2 separate regions of the Homo sapiens genome follow, and region 2 is linked to region 1. The links are contacts of gene promoters, found by promoter capture Hi-C in human tissues and cell types (Jung and others, 2019). All regions are on one chromosome and are shown on one strand. The core of a region is centred on a gene start or on the middle of the fragment in contact, and the rest is flanking DNA. Distances in the headings are between cores, read along the strand shown.

The links. Contacts are between HindIII fragments. The study calls those that stand out against the background at their distance.
Region 2: a contact is called between a fragment that was not itself captured here and the fragment with the promoter of BMPR1B in region 1, in 2 of the 25 tissues and cell types used here (dorsolateral prefrontal cortex and mesenchymal stem cells).

Annotation. Positions count from the first base shown.
Region 1 is chr4:94,756,596-94,759,325 of GRCh38, reverse strand. BMPR1B (bone morphogenetic protein receptor type 1B) reads right to left here and starts at 1,371. Exons shown (of 13, transcript NM_001203.3): 1 at 1,258-1,371. It overlaps BMPR1B-DT (BMPR1B divergent transcript), which reads left to right and starts at 1,793. Exons shown (of 3, transcript NR_121610.1): 1 at 1,793-1,932. The HindIII fragment of the contact is 6,502 bases long and covers 1-2,730 here.
Region 2 is chr4:94,823,147-94,826,099 of GRCh38, reverse strand. The region is part of intron 1 of BMPR1B (bone morphogenetic protein receptor type 1B); the gene reads right to left. Among named protein-coding and RNA genes, the nearest start is that of BMPR1B, 67 kb to the right of the region's middle. The HindIII fragment of the contact is 5,155 bases long and covers 1-2,953 here.

The sequences.
Region 1 (2,730 bases), core at 122-2,621:
TAAGTTTGGTATTAACACATTTTCTTTATCTGTTGGAGGTAGTGAAACGGCTCTCTTCCTCCGTTGTCTTTCACTGGCACCTTTGTGGCCGCTCGTAGTCACTGACCTCACCTTGCTGGAAAGGTGGCTAAGAAAAGAGCAGTTTCTAATAACTCAAGGGAACTGCAGCGTTTCCATTCAGAACAAACAGCAGGACCCAGCTGGAGGGGTGCAGCTCTAAAGAAGTAAGACCCGCACCACAGCGGACAACTTCCAGAGGCTCTTCTCCAACACCGCCAAACACAGGCGGAAACACGGAGCCTGGACAGAAAGAGGGACGAGCAGAGAGATGGGCGCAGAGAGCAAGAGACAGGGGAGCCAGGAAGACCGGGAGCGAAAGCCTCTTGAGAGAGAGAGAGAGACCAAAAGATTGTGCGAAAGTGACAGAGGGAAGAGGATGAAGGGACAGAGGAGGGACACACTGGGAGAGCCAGAGCAGGCGGTGGGGAGAGGGAGACAGACGCACGGAAGGAAAGAGAGACCGGGGGGAGAGGCAAAGGATAGCAATAAGGAGAGGAAGGGAGAAAGGAAGAAAAGGGAGAGAATGAAAGACCCAGAACTTGAGAGAGAGGCATAGAGAGAGAGAAGCAGGAGAGAGAGGAGAAGAGACAGGCAACTGAAGCAGAGACGGAGCCCAGTCCAAGGCGCCGGGACCAGCCCGCTGCGCACTTTCCCCCACGGCAAGGCTGGGTCTCGGGAGGCGTCCGGGGCAGGTGGGTGCCTGCGGGTCCCGCCTGGGCTGGCCCTGGGCCCCCGCCCCGCCGGGCTCCCTCCCATTTCCCGGATTCCGCGACTGCCCTCAGCTCGCCCTCCCGCCCCATCCCTCCGCTCGCAGGTCCGACTCCCTGCCTTGGGGCGTCCCTACAGCCCGAAGCACGTGTCCCGCCCGCCGCCGCCGCTGCCCCGACTCCTCGCCTGCGCAGGCACGAGGCCTCGGGGTCCCGGCAGAGCCGCCCGCGCACAAAGCCGAGGCGGCCACCGCCTGACCCCCTCCCCGCCGCCGCCACCGCCCCACGGCCGCGCAGCCCGCCCTCGCTCTCGCCCTCTCCCTCGCGCGCTCCGTCCTGCCTAGGGCGACCGCCGCCCAGCTCCGCACCCAGCCGCTACCCGTCCCGCGCCGCCCCTCGCTCTGCCCGGCTCTCGCCGGCTCGGCCGCCTCCCGCGCGCTCGGGAACTCGGCCACCCGCAGGGGACGGGGCCCCGCCGCGCGCGCCTTACCCGCGGCTGCGCTCCCGGCTCCCGCGTCCTCAGCGCCGCGGTCTCCGCACTGCCCGGCGTCCCGCGAGGCCCCGCCGACTCCGCGCCCCGCGCCCGGCTGCGCCGTCAACTTCTGGCCGCCGCGGCCGCTCCGCCGCCGCCGCCGCCGCCACCGCGGGACTTTTTTTTTTTTTTTTTTTTTTTTTCCCTCTCGCTCCTCGGCTGCCTCTGGAATTTTTTTTTTTCACTTGCCCTCTCCAGCTCCCACTAGTGATTGGAGACTGAGAGCCAAGTACTTAGCGGAGGGATTACACTTCTCAACGCACTTGGAGCGGCCCCAGCGCCGCCGCCTGTGTGCGGAGTGCGGAGCCGACTTGGGGAGCGGCGGGGTGCGGGCCGGAGGCAGCCCGGGTACAGGGGTGCGCTTCCCAAGCCCCGTCCGCTGCTCAGAGCATCCCCAAGATTTCCCTCATGGGTCCTGTCCTGGTTGTTTAAGAAGGTTTCCAGAAAACCTCCTGGTTTGAAGAACAAAGATTCGTGGAATTATTGTACCTTGAGAGCTGGAAAGGGCTCGCAGAGATGATATAATGTCGTGGATTTCAACTTTTCGGGGCCATAGACACTTTTCAGAAATTGATAAAACGTTGACACACCTTGTAAAAAATGAACACATTAAAATTAAGCCTGCAGTTTGAGGTGGGGGTTTTAAGAATCTTGAAATATATACAGTTGAGCGTCCAAGGGAAATGAAATATTTCCCTTCTACATATTTTTTGAAACCGTTAAACGAAAACAACCACCAAAAAATTAAAAATAAAAAAATAAAACCCAAAAGAGAAAACCCATTCCATTTGTATTTGATGACAGTTTACAGTTAGTCGTGTTTCTTTTGGAAAAGTATGTAACGTCTTATACTTTGTGGTCTCCTTGCTAAGTCTTTAAGTGTTGAAACACTTTCTAAGTGGGTAAATATAAAGTAAGCTAGTTCACAGTCAGAAATTTGGGGAGAATAGTTAACCTCTTTAAAATCAGCCATTTTGCCAACTCTATTTCCCAGGGAGATATCTCGTGACTTCCAAATACTCTTTTCCTTTCAATACCTTTCAGCTTCCCACTCTCCAGCATTACTTATTTTCTCCTTCTGTAAAATTTTTTTCCTCCAAAATATTGACAAACAGTCTCTGGTCACCACCAAGTGTGTGATCTAAGTCATTTTTTTTTTTAACAGTTTTTCACCCTGAAGTAACTTTCTTCCAATTTTCTTCATATCTATTTCTATATTCAATTCTTAGCCTACTATTTTCTTTCAACTACTCCCTTTTCTTAAATTGTTTCTATTAAATCTTTTTTAAACATTAAATGTAATCTTTTTGCACTTATCAATAAAAAATTCATTTGTGTATCAATTTATTTTATGCAGCTTGCACTTAAAGCAGGCGGTGCCCCCAGTGTTTATTGAGTGTATGAAGATGTGGTCATGTTTTTTCTATAAAA
Region 2 (2,953 bases), core at 311-2,810, 67 kb before region 1:
TAAACAAATAAAAATATGAATTAATATTTTTGAGGAAATGATTTTAAAATTTTTTTTTCCACAAATAAAAATAAACCTTTAGATCCTGTTCCAATAACCAATGGCACTGGGGAAAAAGTAATATCTGTAATGCAAAAGCCTAAAATAAAAAAGAAATGTTACCATATGCCTGGCTCCAAAGTTTAGAAAAACAGAAAAAATATCCTTTGTTGTGGTATTTTTAATTCTCTACAAATGTAATGTGTACTTATAAAATTTGTTTTTATTTTCTTATATTAATAAAACTATTTCCATTCAGAAAAATAGACTGCAATGCAATCCATTTTCTTTCCACATTCTGCAAAGCATTTTGATATTTGTATAAAGGCAGTCTGGATTTACCCATTACAATAGTACTCTGTTTTACTCCCCAGAACTATTGCAACCAGGCACTGTCACCCATGTATTTTGTCAATGGTGGTTTAGGAAAATCAAAGGGTCCCAATTCTTGCCAATGAGAAGGCAAGTCTGCCACAAGATTTCTGGGAAAGGTTTTTTCCCATCTTAAAAAAAAAGATGGTACTATTTTGTTTTGTTTTGTTTTGTTTTTACTTTTGAGACAGGGTCTCACTCTATCACCCAGACTGCAGTGCAGTGGCATGATAATAGCTCACTGCAGCCTTGAATTCCTGGGCTCAAGGGATCCTCTCACCTCTGCCTCCTGAGTAGCTGGGACTACAGGTATATGCCACACTGCTCAGCTAATTTTTAAAAATTTTTCGTAAAGATGACCTCTCACTTTCTTGCCCAGGCTGGTCTCAAACTCCTGGGCTCAATAGATCCTCCTGCCTCAGCCTCCTGAGTAGCTGGGATTACAGGCATGAGCTACCACACCCAGTAGTACTATTCTTATAGCTGAAAGTGGTATCTGCTGCTAACAGCCAGAGGATGGGGCCACCACAGAATGTCAGAGACTAGCGATGAACTCCCATCCACAAAAAGAACACTTAACATGAGTCTGGAATGACATTATTGAGCTTCTAGTCTGTATCAATCACCTCTGGCATCAAAACTACATGAACATCCACTTAAAAGAGATTCTAAACGTCCTTCTTTTTCAAGTAAGCTTGTATTGAAATTTTCTGTTTGCATCCAACATTGTTCTACCTAATGCACCAATGTAACAAAATGTCCATTTAAATTAGTTAACTGATCAAGGAGTCCATGTTACAAATTTCAGTAACTACAATTTTGTAAAACACAAAAACTAGACAATAATTTGAACACTATATATAACTTTCATTACATTTTTATTTTATAAAATAAAAATTTACCCAATATAAAAACGTTTTTACTCAAAAGCATACCAAATTTTCCCCATTTTTCCCCAAGATCAATTAAACAGAAATTTTTCTGTGTGAATCAAATCTTTTAAATAAAATTCTTATTTGCCTTATTTCACAAGTAAATGTTTTCATTCTCTCAGACAAAATTAATTCTCTAAATGTCATATAGACAGTAAAAATGAGTTCTCATTTTATAATTTCTTTATTCAAATGAGCTTTTTAGAAAATAACCAGAATGTTTAAAAACAGATCAGTTCAAATAGCATAAGGATACACTACCTTAGTGTCTGCATTTGGGGCTAAACCATGAAGTGGTTCAAGTTTGGAAGCTCCATAAGTGATTAAGATACTTGCTCTGTTCACATGCTCACAGTGCAGTAAATAAATGAGACACTGAAGAGACAAGAACCATATAATAAGTGCTACCACAGAACTGTGTACCAGCACAAAGAAGCATCTGATTAACAGGTGAATTCATGGAGAAGGAAAAAGTTACGGTGGGGAAGGTTTCCTTAGCTTCCTCCTGAATGGATGCATGGGAAAGTGCTGGCAATGATCAGGCTAATTAGAATTAAGTGGTAAATTCGTGCATCAAAACTCAGACAAAAATGTTAGTATCTTTAAATGCTTGAATTAGATCAATTAAACATTTCATTTTACTTCATTATAATTCTGAAAGAAATTTAAACACCAAATAAGGCTTTAAACTCTAAAAACTAAAAGGATAGTGGCTGGGCACGGTGGCTCATGCCTGTAATCCCAGCACTTTGGGAGGCCAAGGCGGGTGGATCGCAAGGTCAGGAGATTGAGACCATCCTGGCTAACACGGTGAAACCCCGTCTCTACTAAAAATACAAAAATTAGCCAGGCGTGGTGGCAGGCACCTGTAGTCCCAGCTACTTGGGAGGCTGAGGCAGGAGAGTGGTGTGAACCAAGGAGACGGAGCTTGCAGTGAGCCAAAATCATGCCACTGCACTGCAGCCTGGGCGACAGAGCGAGACTCCATCTCAAATAAAAAAAAAAAAACCAAAAGGATACTAAAAACTATTCTTCAATCTGTAGGCTGCTCAGACAGGCATATCTAACCTTTTCTCTATTCCATATCTCAGTCAGAAAACAGCCCTGGTAAATATATGTATGGTTACATCTTTGCCTTATAGAGAGGTTAGGCTGTGTGTGCAGTAGAGGGCTTAGTATGCAATCCTGGTTCTTTTTCTTCATAAACTGTGACCATTAATTCCTTCTCCTCTGCTAGTTGTCTCTCAGAATCACTTTCCAGACACTGGCTCCTCCAAAATGAGGGCACAGCTCCCCAAAACATAGATCCGAACACCAGCTTTGCCCCCAGCCTTTTCTCATAACTCATACATATCCACCCACAGAAATGTGGCAGCCCACCAGGAGAGAAGCATGGTAGTGAACCAAGCTAACTTTCTACCACATCCGTTCTCCCACTGACCCCTCAAAAGCAAAGGAGCCCTTCTCTGCCCACTTCCATTCTAGCTTTAACCAAAATTTTGGAAAGCAGTTTTATCTCAGAACTCTTTTACACCTTCTGTCACTCTTTGGTGAGGTTAATTTAGAATATGAAGTGAGAAAGAGCACCTCAAGCTCATTAACAAATGATT